Regions from separate parts of the Homo sapiens genome. Here region 1 is linked to region 2. The links are contacts of gene promoters, found by promoter capture Hi-C in blood cells and fetal thymus (Javierre and others, 2016). All regions are on one chromosome and are shown on one strand. The core of a region is centred on a gene start or on the middle of the fragment in contact, and the rest is flanking DNA. Distances in the headings are between cores, read along the strand shown.

Region 1 (6,299 bases), core at 1,128-3,627, 290 kb before region 2:
TCACTTTTTCTGTAGATGGACATTTGAGGTTTCTAGTTGGGCTATTACACATGAGGGTATTAGGAATGGAATTGCTGGGTCATGGTAGTTAGGTATATATTTAACTTTCTGGGAAACTGCCATGTTCTTTACCAAAGTGGTTATATCATTTACACACCCATTAGCAACCATTGAGAGTTCCAGTAATTTCATATTCTCACCAACATTTGGTATTTTTATTTTAGCCAGTCTCATGTGTGTCAGTTTGTGTTTATAATTTGTGAGCTGTATATACTGTTTATTTTGCTGCTTGAAATGTCAGGGACTATATACCACTACAATTACAGGGTTTTATTGAAACGTGTACTACACTGCATAGACAGGAATATACAGACTTTTGCAAAATGCAGCAAACATTTTTAACATTTGTTATTATGTGAAAAAAGTACAAAAGTGTTCAAAGAGATATACATTTCAAGTTGTAGCAGGTTGTGACAAAGTTTCTGAGGGCAAAGCATGTATAAAATTAATAACATGTTAGTATATTTAAAATCATAACAAAAATCTTCTCTCTGGTCATGCTGACCATAACAAATTACTGTGTTGTAGTATACTTATAACAAGGGTTAACAAACTACCACCTCAGGGCCAGGTTCAGTTTGCCTCTCACTTTTGTTTATTCATTTTTGTTGTTGTTGTTATTGTTGTATAAGACAGGCTCTCTCTCTTACTGCCCAGGCTGGAGCACAGTGGCACAGTCTTGGCTCACTGCAACCTCTACCTCCTGGGCTCAAGGGATCCTCTTGCTTCAGCCTCCCGAATAGCTAAGACAGGTGTATGCCAGCACGCCCGGCTAATTTTTGTATTTTTGTAGAGATGAGATTTTGCCATGTTGCCCAGGCTGGTCTCAATCTCCTGGGCTCAAGTGGTTTACTCGCCTCGGCCTCCCAAAGTGCTAGGATTACAGGCATGAGCTACTGCGCCTGGCATGCGCTTGCTTTTATAAATAAAGTTTTGTTAGGACACAGCAGTGCTTGTTTATTTACATATTGTCTATGGCTGCTCTACAAGGGAAGAGTTGAATAACTGCAGCACTGAATGGCTTGCAAAGCCAAAAATTTTTACCTGACCCTTTATAGAAGAAGTTTGCAAGATGGCAATAGTGCATAATCCTATTGCATTTTTGTTTTCTTCTGGAAATTAAGGGTGTTTTTCTTGGGATAAATGAATTAGCCAAAACACAAAACCAGTTGATCAAACAAAACAAAACAAAACAAAACAACCCACCTCTCTTATAACAGCAGTAATTTTCAGAACGTAACAACTGACAATACTTTTGCCATTCATTCCGTGTTCTTTTAAAGTCACCATCTGTGCACTGTTGCCGTAAGTACATTTATAAAAACTTGTCTGTTAAGCCATTATACTAACTACAGCCTCCTTAAGAGGATGTATTTGGTTGACTTGATCAGTTTGGCCACGAATAGTGTTACATGTGTTGCATTGGCAGGCTCTCTACATCAGTTACATTTATGTTTAACTCCTTAGAAATAAAAGGAATATGGCCGGGTGTGGTAGCTTACAGCTGTAATCCCAACACTTTGGGAGGTCAAGGCGTGCGCATCACCTGAGGTCAGTTGAAAACCAGCCTGACCAACGTGGAGAAAACCCGTCTCTACTAAAAATACAAAAATTAGCCAGGCGTGGTGGCACATGCCTGTAATCCCAGCTACTTGGGAGGCTGAGGCAGGAGAATCGCTTGAATCAGGGAGGCGGAGGTTGCGGTGAGCCAAGATTGCTCCATTGTACTCCAGCCTGGGCGACAAGAGCGAAACAAGAAAGAAAAGGAATATATATTGTTGTATAAAGCTTAATTTTGTAAGCACTTGCTTTGACTATTTTGAAAAGCTCTTTGCTTTTTTTCTCTTAGGGGATCATCCATAATGTTGCTGTGTTTTATTTTCAGAACCTTTTCAAATTTAATGTCATTCTGATAGGAACTTACTAAACTCATCATTATTAGAATTTCTGCATCACTTTTGCATGATGTGGCCTCCAGCAAGTCAAATGAATTTATTCCAAGTTCTTCAGCATATTTCCTTAAGGCCAAATATTTTAAGCAAATGATTCACATGGAACTCCTCAATTTATTATCATTCTTGAAGGCATCAAAAATTGAGTGTGAATTTTCAAAATGACCTTCTTTTAAGGGCATTTTGCCCCTTCATTCTCTGATAATTCCATGATTAATGGATATGGGATGGCAAATTGACAAGAACTGGCCCAGTTATAGAGAGTACTTTCAGTTTTTTGTTATTTTTTACGTCCTGTGTACAGTTGAATTTCTAAATCTCGTCTCCTCTCTCTCTCTTTTTTTTAATTGAGACAGGTCTCGCTGTGTCGCCCAGGCTGGAGTGCAGTGCCACGATGTTGGCTCACTATAGCCTCTGCTTCACTGGCTCAAGCGATTCTCATGCCTCAGCCTTCCAAGTAGCTGGGATTACAGGCACCTGCCACCATGCCTGGCTAATTTTTGTATTTGTAGTCAGAGACAGGGTTTCACCATGTTGCCAGGCTGGTCTCAAACTCCTGGCCTCAAGTGACCCACCTGTCTCAGCCTCTGAAAGTGCTGGGATTACAGGCATAAGCTACCATGCCCAGCCCAAATCTCATATCTCTAATAACTGTATCCTTTTTCAGGTTGTCATCTCCGTAATCAGTGTGATATGATTGATGTAACTGGTGTAAAATATTTTGAACGTTTCCATATTCCTCTCCATTCTCAATTTAATTTCCTAACCTTCGTAGTTGTCTTAAACCACAGTTTATCATTCTTAGCATTTTTTAGAGCTTCTGTTGTTGTTTTATAGAATTCCTAAATTCATCTGATTCTCTCTGGATTGTTTCCAGTTTTGGCTGTTAGGAATAAAGCTTCTGTAAACATTTGAGTTTAAGTCTTTTCATGCATTTATATGTTCAGTTCTCTTTGGTAAATACCTAGGAATGGAATCACTGGGTTGTATGGTAATTATGTGTTTACTATTGTAAGAAACCACCAAACTGTTTACAAAGTGTTTGTACCATTTTGCATTGTATAGGAGTTCCAGTTGTTTCTTATCCTTTGCCAACACTTCTTAATTTTAGCATTTTGTAGATATGTAGTGGAATCTCATTGTGGTTTTAATTTGCACTGCCCTGAGGGCTAGTAATGTTGACATCTTTTCAAGTGCTTATTTGCCATGTGTTATATCTTCCTTAATGAAACACCTCAATCATTTACACATTCCCACTTTAAAAAATTAATTGTCTTTCTCATTAATTTGGAGAGTTATATATTCTGGATACAACTCCAACTTTATTATCAGATATGTTTTGTAGGCATTGTGTCCTGGCCTGTGACTTACCTTTTCATATTTTAAACAGTTTTTTGAATAGTAAGATTTTTAAATTTTGATGAAGTGTCCAGCTTGTCGTTTATTTATAATTCATATCTCATAGCGACCCCTCTTCTAACTCTTCAGCTCTCTGTTCAGCATATTCCTCACTAGCACTCTACCCTACAATTCTAGCTACCTTGCCCGCCCCAAAATTTGTGTGCGTGCTCTCTCACTCGCTCTCACTCTCACTCTCGCTCACTTCGCTCGCTCTCTCATTTTCTCACTCTCGCTTGCTCTCCCTCTCTCTCCCACTTTCTCAACTTTTGAAGATACCTCCAACGCGGAGCTCTAATTCAGTCTGGAAGCTGCCACCATGTAATTAGCTGCTGTAGTCATAGATCTCCCTTGGATTTTTTCCTTTTGTTGAAGAGCACCACAGTCCTGAGCTGCCATTAACTGTTAAGACTATGTTAATAACTAGAAGTAACATATGCCACTAAAGCTCTTTGAAAAGCAATTTGGCGACATCCTTGAAGGTATAAATAGTTTACTGTTTAAGAAGGAGCATAGGCTTTAAAGTTAGTTCAGATCCCACAACTATAAAATATTCATGGCCTTCGGAACATGATTACCCAAAAGGCTAGAGAAATTATTGGACAAGAGAAGAACATCACTTGCATTTTTCATCTTAAAACAGAGGTATCATGTTCTTTGGTAGTATACTGATTATGATGTATTCTTACCAAGGGGAATCAACTCTATTGTCTTAGCTATGAAGACACTGCATTGTTAAAGTAGAAGGTCATATTTCTGTGTTCCAGTTCTTTACTGTGTCAGCAAATGAAATTTAACAAGGGGAGAATATTAGAAATAACTGGGTGCTTGGTGTATTTTACAAAGGTTTGTTGACATTATTGACATTTGTTCCGTTTTAGTTAACTCATTATAGAAGAGGAAACAGTTTTTGTCCATTGGAAAAAGCAAAGGATATTTTCCCATAGCCTGTTTGAATCCCTTGGCATTTGGTGGTCTTGTTCATACTGAGTAGATTGCTTTGTGCATTCTTATGCCATTTGCCTCTAGGACAAATCCCAATTAAGTAACTACTCTTTTCCATTTGAAAACTGGCATATGGGCTTCATTCCAAAGCATCAATTAAAGCAGCAGTTTTTCTACTGGGAGCACTTTACCTCCTCCTTTTGCGATTAGTTTGAGTATTTTCCTATAGGAAATCCATTCTTAATAGCACATTTTCCATCTTACAATAGAAGGGTCACCAGCTGCAGTTCTTTGCAGTAAGGATGGAGTATAATATGGAAGTGTATAGAGTGAAATGGGTTGCTTTTCTTCCATCTTTTTTCCCCCTTTACATTTGCTTTTGCTTGAGTGGTTGGTCCCTGAAGAGGCAGTAACTATGGGCATACATATGTGTATGTATGTCCCTGCAACATTTAAAGTGTGTAAATGAGAAGACCTTGCCTAAACCTGAATAAGAGTTTACATGATTAACCTAACTAAACCCTCTCTTTCCTTATGTTTCCACAGGAGTCTCCCCAGGACAGTGCTATCACCCGGGATATTAACCGAACATTCCCAGCCCATGACTACTTTAAGGACACAGGAGGAGATGGACAAGATTCCTTATATAAAATATGCAAGGTATTTCATGTCAAAAAAAAAAAGGACTCAATTCTGAGTGGTGGTTCTACTTTGAAATTACATAAGAAACAACTACAAAGTGTAATTTGTATTTGATGTTCAAGAATTCCAAAAAGAGAAAAGACATTGCAAAGTCAAAGGTGAGAACACAATTTTAGATTCATTAAAGAGTAGAAAATAATAAGAAATAAAATGGTAGGGTTTCCTTTCCCCTTCTAATCAGGATTTTTAGATGACAGTTCCCTGGCTCCACATTTAGACTTTCAAAATTTGTTTTTATGTTAAGAACCTCTGAGCCCTGTGACACTGCAGACTCCTTTTCAGTATTCACTTTATAAGTGATGAACTTGGCACCTACGGTACGGTCTCACAGTGGGAAGTGTCATTGCCCATCCAGGTGTACTTATAGCACTGCAGCATAGTAAATGATGGAAGATTCTGATTTCTCTCAAAAGGTCTGTACCCGAACACTAAAGGAAGTAATAGCCTGTTCAATTTCCGTATTCCATTTTCAAATAGATTTGGCACATTAGAGCTATTGGGTTATAAAAGGAGGAGATAGGAACGGAGTTTTTCAGTCTTCATCTGTTCTCAGAATTAGTCTTCAGTCTTTTCCTCCCAAAAGTAATCAAGTACTTATTTAGCATCTCCTATGTAGTAAGTACAGGTAAGGCATGAGACATGTCGCTAATGCTATATGACAACTGGTTTTAGGACAGACTAGCAGTAAAGGATAGGCTCGCCAATGAAAAATTCGATGATTTAAACTACAAGGACAGTTGAGTTTAGAGAAATATTTTTTAGATTTCATTTTAACTTTTACATAGGATACAGATTTCTGTGGTAATCTTTCTTTCTGATCATCCTTTTTAGCCCCTTCTCAGTTTTATTTCCTGCTTAAGCAGTGACCCCTGCCATCTCTCACTTTACTACAGAATTTCCTAGAAAGAAACGCTATGTCCACTGCCTCTGGTCCCTCGTCACATACTTTTGACTCCACTATATTCTAGTTCCTATTTCATGGTGCTCTTCCTTGCAGAGCTTTCTGCTCTTGAGCATAAGACATGTCACTCTCTTGGGTACGGGCTCCCTCTCATGCCTTCACTGACTTCATCATTTTATCTCACACTACCTGCCCCTAAACCAGAGGCCTTCCTCTGGGTGCTCAGTTGGGTAGTTTGGCTAGCTCTACACCATCTCCCTGGGTGATCCCTTCTACCCCCAAAGCTTCAGCTATCATCACTGTACAGATGTTCACAAATCTACATTAACTCAAGGTCTAAA
Region 2 (6,849 bases), core at 2,855-5,354:
CAGCTCAGTGCAACCTCCACCTCCCGGGTTCAAGCGATTCTCCTGCCTCAGCCTCCTGAGTAGCTGGGATTACAGGTGCCCGCCACCATGCCTGAATAAGTTTTGTATTTTTAGTAGAGACGGGGTTTTGCCATGTTGGCCAGGCTGGTCTCGAACTCCTGATCTCAGGTGATCCGCCCACCTCGGCTCCCAAAGTGCTGGGATTACAGGCATGAGACACAGCGCCCGGCCCTTTATGTATTAATTTAACCAACACTCATTTAACTCTTGACATTGCCAGACACTTTTCTAAATGCTTGATGAGTAATTATTTAATCCTCAAGACAAGTCTATGCAGTAAGGTGCAGTTGCTGTCTCTTTTTTTTACCAGGGAGCTAACTGAGGCACAGAGAGGTGACTTACCCAAGGCTGGAGTCGGGCAGACCCAACTCGAATCCTGCCAGGCACTGGTGCTGGGCCAACCTCACTTCTCTGTGCCTTGGTTTCCTCATCCATAGAATGGGGCCAGTGCTGACCTTGCAGTGCTGCTGGGAAGTGGAGAAGCCGGGATTTGAATCAGCATCTGTGCACCTCACCACTGGCCTATAGTGTCTGCCTCTGATGTTTCAGTTAGGGCATTGGGTTGGTTTTCTTTTGGAAGTTACAAGCATACATATGTTGAGACAAGGTTAAGTGCCACTGGTGGAGAGCCTGTGAGAGCTGGGCTGGGAGGGAGTGGAGGTCTGGTCACTGAAGCTGGGGCATGGACACGCTTGTCCAGGGAGGAATGTGGAGTGAGGAGGGCAGGGGGCTGGAGACAGACCCGGACAGGTCACAACATTCTGGGAGGAGGAGTGAGGAACGGTTAACAAGGTAGAGAGACCAGGGTAGCAGGGGTTGGGGAGCCCACAGGGACAGAGTTCCAAGAAGGAGGGCATGGGTGACAATGGAGAAGGCCTTAGAGAAACCCAGTGAGGTCAGGGCTGATGGTGGCCCCAGACTCAGACACAGAGGGAGCAGGGGGACCTGGGCCGTGAGAGCCGAAGGGGCCTCAGCTGGAGCTGCAGTCACTCTCACCCCAATACCCAATGTAGGGAGAAGGAGGGGAAGAAACACCCCAACCTCCATCTCCTCTCTCCCTGGCATCTCCGGCCTGTGCCTCCCACTGGCTCACCTTTCCAGGAAGCAGATGGAAGGAAGCCAGCATGACACAGCCCACAGGTGCCAGCAGGGCAAGGGCGGCTCTGGGTGGGGAGTAGGGACAAACAGAACAACCAGTGAGACCCTGAGAAGGGAGATGTGAGACCCTGGGGAATGATCCAGAGCAGGAGTCACCTGGAAGGGTCTGAAGGGGTTCCTTCTGGTGGGCTCCTCAGTGGGGAGGGTCACTATCCTCCCACGACGAGGCTCTGACAGCAGCCGCCCAGTCCTTGCAATGTTCTCAGGCAGATGCTGTGATGATCCCATTTACAGATGGGAGAACTAAGACGCAGAAAAGGAACAGACCAACAAAAGCTCACCTAAGGGCAGAGAGCAGGAACCGGATTCAAACCCAGGTCTGCCTGATGCCAAAGCTGGGACTCCCAACCACTGAACCTTGCTGTCGCATGTGCCCATCAGCTTGAGAGTTGGTGGGAATCCCGGCCCAGGACAGCGTCCCCTCAGCCAGGGAGGTGGCAGCAAGTCATGCTCAGGCTAGTGGAGGGGCAGTTAGTAACCTGCAGTCGGAGGTTCACCAGTGGAAAGGCTGGAGTCGGGCAGACCCAACTCGAATCCTGCCAGGCACTGGTGCTGGGCTGCTCACCTCTCTGTGCCTCGGTTTCCTCATCCATAGAATGGGGCCAATGCTGACTTTGCAGTGCTGCTGGTGGGTGGGGGGGGGGTAAACTGAGGTTATGTCGATTCCCTTCCCAGGTGGGGAGGACAGGGGAAGTGGATGCACCTGGGGGACCATCTCAGAGGAGCTGGCCCACTCTTACTGCCTTCTCCAGATCCGGACCAGGGAGCGGTCAAGATGGTGTGCCCTTGTCTGACCTCCGTCCTGCCTGCTGTCCAGCGACTCCCTGGCTTCCTCCCCGTCACGTGGGACTCCTGTACCCGGTGCTGTCGGGGGAGCCCCCCTCCATACCCTCCAGACCTCACAAGACACTTCCAGGTCTGGCCACAAGGTGGAGTGTGGCGGCTGCAGGACAGTGCTGGGGGCCGGGCTGCAGAGGAGACTGGACCTGCGCCGGGTGACCTCCCCGCTCTGTGAAAGTGTGGGAGTTTGTGTCTGTGCATCCAGAGAACCAGAGGGTGGTGGTTGACTTGCCGTGCTCCCCCCAGCCCCCCATTGGGATTGCCTGGGTCTCTGGGGGATCACTGAGAAGCTGGATAAAGAGAGCTGGCACTGTCGCCTTGGCTCACTAACGCCACCATTTTACAGGTGAGGAGACTGAGGCCCAGAGAAGGAAGTCACGTGCTGAGGTCACCGGCTAATCAGTGGCTGAGCTGGGCTCGAACCCAGATCTCTTACGCTGTGAGGCCTCTGCTTTTCCTGTGGCATGGAGAGGGGCTTCTCCCACCTGGGGAGAGGGATCCTGTTGTATTGGAGAGGCAGGGGATTAAAGATGGACTGAGAGAGGTTAGTGTCCCAGAAACCAAGGGGCAATCCCTGCCCTGGAGAGAACAGGCCTCAAGGGCAGGGATGGGGCAGGGGCAGTGGATAAGGAGTCTACCCAGGCCTTTTTGGGTTCCCTCCTTTGGTCCCTGGGGACCCAGGGCTGTGGCACTTGCCCCGGGCTAGAGGGTCGGCCAGGGCCTGTGTGGTGCCCACTGCTCCCTCCCCTGCACTGCAGGGGACCCTTGCCCATCCCTCTAGCTCATCTGGACCTCCCTCAATGGCTCCTGCTGTCTTTCCAGGCTGTGTCCTCCCGTGTCAGGGACACATCCCAGAGCCCAGGGCCTGCGTGGGCTGTATCCACGGTTACTGAATAGGGACAAACAGGCATGTATTGGCAGGGGCCGGTGGCTCATTTCAGGAAAGTCCCTTCAGCAAGAGGATTCTCTCCCCACTGGGGCTGAGGGTGGTAGAAGAAAGGAATGTTGTTCTATGTTGTAGTGTCTCTGAGATGACCTGGCTTCCTGAACCAGGTCCCCCTGAAGAGCTCCTCCTGTCCACCCCAACAAGAGGCCAGCTGGAGAGCAAGCAAACATCGAGTGCAGCAGGAGACTATAAGGTTAGACAACAAGAAGGACTTCCTGGCAGGGGAGAGCAATGCTTGCTTGGTTAGAGCTGCCTTTCAGTAGAATGGGCTGCTTTGGATTGCAGTGAGGTCGCTGGAGTTGCAAACAGCAGAGCCAGAGATCAAGGTCAAGTGGAAGAAAGCTGGGAAAGGTTCAGTTTGGCTGGTGAAGGGTGGAGAGGGTAAAGGGAGGCAGGGACCACCGTGGTGCAGGGGTGAGGTGCCCTGCAGGGAGCTGATCCTGAGGCCGATGGTGGGAGGAGCTGTGTGTGGTCGGGTGGGACGGGGTGGGGACAGCAGGAGACACTGAGAAGGTGGCATGGCCAGGAGCTAGGGGCTGACCGAGTGTGGGGAGGGGGGAGTGGGGAGGGGGCGTTGGGCTGCCCGATGGGAGGTGCCTTGGCTCCGATGGGAGCACTGGGGAGCAGCAGGTGGGGGGACGAGCTGGGTGGGAGGGGCTGCAGCTTCCCAGCAGAGACAGGGTCTGGGAGGCGACTGGACTCGAAGGCCTGGGCTTGGGAGAGAGGCCCGGGCTGGAGAGGTGGGGAGGGGGATCCAGGAGAGGGGATAACTAAGGACTTGGGAGTAGCTGGCATCACCTGGTGAGACGAGAGTCCTGAACAGCCCCCTCTCCAAGGACAGAAATTTCTCCAAGGAGGCTGACCTGAGAGGTGGGAGGAGAGTGGGGCAGAGGGTCAGGAGGGAGAAACCAGTGGGTGCCAAGACCAGGTCAGCCCCACAGGCTAGGGGGCTTGAGGACTTGGGGCTGATGTCTAGGGACGTCCACGAGGTGGAGCAGCCCAGGAGGCCTGGGTGGGAGGAGGAGGCGGTGGCGGGGAGGGGAGGGAGGGGCTGGGCCTCTGTCCACAGCATTAGTGCTGGTTGGAGGGACGAGGGGGGTGCGGAGCCAGCCAGGCCGCCCTCCCGTTCTCACAGCAGCCGAGCAGAGCGCAGAGCGGGCTGCCATGGCGCTGGCCAGGCCTGGGACCCCGGACCCCCAGGCCCTGGCCTCTGTCCTGCTACTGCTGCTCTGGGCCCCTGCCCTTTCCCTCCTGGCTGGTGAGTTGGGGCCCATGTCTGGAGGGGCCTGGGAGAGGGTCTGTCCCCCAAGACAGATACCCCAAGCCTTGGCTGCTGGGGTGGTGGGTGGGCTGGTCCGCGTGGGTGCAGGCCTGAGCTGTGGGGTGCACAGGAGTGCGCGGCTGTGGCCCCCAGACTCTGTGGGGCTCCACGGAGGTGAGTGTGTTCTGAGGCTCGGGGCTGTTTCATGTTGAGGGGGGTTGTAAGTTTCGGGGTTGGGGGATCGGGGGCTGGGCATGATTTGGGGGAGCTGATGCGGGTGAGGGATGGGGTGCGTGTTTTGGGAGGTGCTGTGTTGCATCCTGTAAAGGGCTGGGGGACTTCTGGGTTTCTAGGGGCTGAGTTTGGGGAGTTGCAGGTGGCATAAGCCTCACCCCAGAGCTTGTTCTGTGTCGCATGCTGGGTTGTGGGGCACAGGTTGTGGGTGTGTTAGAGTTGGGAGGTGGATGAGCTGTCTGGGGTGAGCCGTGAGTTGTGTCCGAGGAGTTGGGTGTGGTGAGCTGTGTCCTAGCACACGCTGTGGGGTGTAGGTTGTCCAGGGTTGAACTAGGTCTTTGCTCTCAACATGAGGGGTGTGGGATGTGCACAGCCGACCCCAACTCGGGACTGAGTGGAGAAGCGTGAGGGAGACTCAGGGAGCTGGGTGCCTGCCCGCACCCCTCCATTTGTGCGGTAGCCCTGCCTGTGCTGAGGGCTGCTGGGGATGCTCTGGGTCCCTGTGGGGTGGCTGGGGATTTGGGAACATGTGTGTGTCCCCTGCTGCCCCCTCCCCAGCATTCCAAGGCCAATCTGAAAGGGCTCCCTGAAGCCAGACCACATTTGCCAAGCCCTTTTTGCTTTTGTCCAAGCTCTCGGAGCCTGGAATTCCTCCTGGGGGGTCCAAGGGAACGCTTGGTGTTAGTTACTATAGTTACAGGGGCCGGGCCTGGGAAGTCCCCTGCCCCCACCACCACAGGCTGGGGAGGGAGCCAAGGAGGGCCTGGGCTCTCCTGAGGCTGGGGGAGCCCTCCCTGCCCCAGAGCTCCACAGGCTGTAGGGTGTGGGGGCCAAGTGTCTCCCAGTCCCACCTGGGGACCCTCATGTTTCCCGCACTCACAAAGCTTTCATTTCCTATCCTCTCTATGGGGCCCTAGGGAGGATGAGGACCCCATTTTGCAGTGAAGGAAACCAAGGCTCAGAGAGGGACGGGGACTTATGAGCTGGGCTCTGCTGGCAGGCGACTTGGGCTCCATAGAGGGGTGGGGCATGGTGGCGGGGGGCGGGGTGGCTGCTCCTCTCTGTTCTCTGCATACAAAGCACGTGAGATCCCGGTCTGTGGATCGGTGCTCTGTCCCCTGCCCTGTGATGCTCACACACCCACACTCCGCACACCTGTGTGGCATGCCCAAGGGCACACAGCACCACAGGGACAGGTGCTACAGACACATGTGGATCTACCAGCACATGCACCTACCTACACACATGGCATGTGCCTGCACACCAATGTGCACACCCCAACACGCACATGTGGACATGTGTGCATTCACACTCAGTGTGCACTCACAGGGGACCTGGAGGCACAGAGTGGATGGAGGCTGTGGGGGGTCTGGACACTGGTGTGTACACTCAACCCATCAGGCCTGCTGGGTTGCCCAGGGGCAGCCTTTCCTCTGCCATTTCTGTGCTGGGAGCGCCATCCCTGGGGATCCCTAAAAGTTGGTGGGGTACACTGCAGGCATGACCATTTCTGCATGCTGGTACCCTAGACTGCCTGCCGGGAGGGGAGGGATTGGGGATTTTGTCACTTGAAAACCAATTTCCATCCTGGAGGGGATGGGGGCTTCTGGAGGCCATGGGCCCCTGGCTTTTCTCCCCACCCCTGCCAGGCCCTGAGCTGGGCCTCTCCATCCTGGGCCCAATTTGCCACAAAGGCCCGGCTGGTTGCCATGGAGAGGACCAAGCATCTTGGAGTACAATGGGGCACGTTGGGCTCTCATATCCACCCTCCCTTCCCCAAACACCCAGGGAGCCCAGCAGACAAAGGGGCAGTGAGTCCAGGCCCCAAGTCCGGCCCCTCCTCCAGCCAGAAGGGGGTGGGGGCCTGCAGGACAGAAGCAGAGATGGAGCAGAAAGCCACACACATTCAACCCAATGTCAGGATCCTTTGGACAGTGGGTGTCTGCCTCAAGTAAAGAATTGTTAATGAGTAAGATCAGCCACTCCATGGCAGGCACTGTGCTATTATTAACGAGGTCTAATTTAATTCTCCCAACAGCCTATGAAGTCAGCTCTGATACCCCTAGTTTACAGAGGAGGTAAACGAGGCCCAGAGATGGCCAGTCCCAGAGCCAGGAAGCCCCAGAGCCAGTGCTGGGATTTCACAGTACACTGTGCTACTTGCCTAGGCAAAGTCACGTCTCTTCTCTGTCTCTACAAAACGAGGACAGACTGGCTTACTCCGAGCGCTGGTATAAGGATTGGAAGAGAATGCAGTGAGCGGTTCCCCACCCCAGGTTTTGGCATGGAACCCCCAATTTCAAGGGAAATTTTAGATGGAAGCCCATGAATAGTTAATAGTAAAATTGTT

What was found. The method cuts DNA at HindIII sites, captures the fragments that hold promoters and counts their contacts. A CHiCAGO score of 5 or more calls a contact.
Region 1: a fragment that was not itself captured here is called in contact with the fragment with the promoter of CRB2 in region 2 in 13 of 17 cell types (M1 macrophages, activated CD4 T cells, total B cells and 10 more); the score reaches 12.0 in M1 macrophages.

What each region holds. Positions count from the first base shown.
Region 1 is chr9:123,060,447-123,066,745 of GRCh38, forward strand. It overlaps RABGAP1 (RAB GTPase activating protein 1), which reads left to right. Exons shown (of 26, transcript NM_012197.4): 14 at 4,902-5,015. It also overlaps the pseudogene LOC100422501. Among named protein-coding and RNA genes, the nearest start is that of GPR21, 30 kb to the left of the region's middle. The HindIII fragment of the contact is 1,062 bases long and covers 1,847-2,908 here.
Region 2 is chr9:123,352,093-123,358,941 of GRCh38, forward strand. It overlaps CRB2 (crumbs cell polarity complex component 2), which reads left to right and starts at 4,105. Exons shown (of 13, transcript NM_173689.7): 1 at 4,105-4,262. The coding sequence starts at 4,169. RefSeq lists silencers at 1,926-2,035, 2,056-2,105 and enhancers at 2,068-2,567, 2,236-2,405, 5,786-6,453. The HindIII fragment of the contact is 7,167 bases long and covers 1-5,381 here.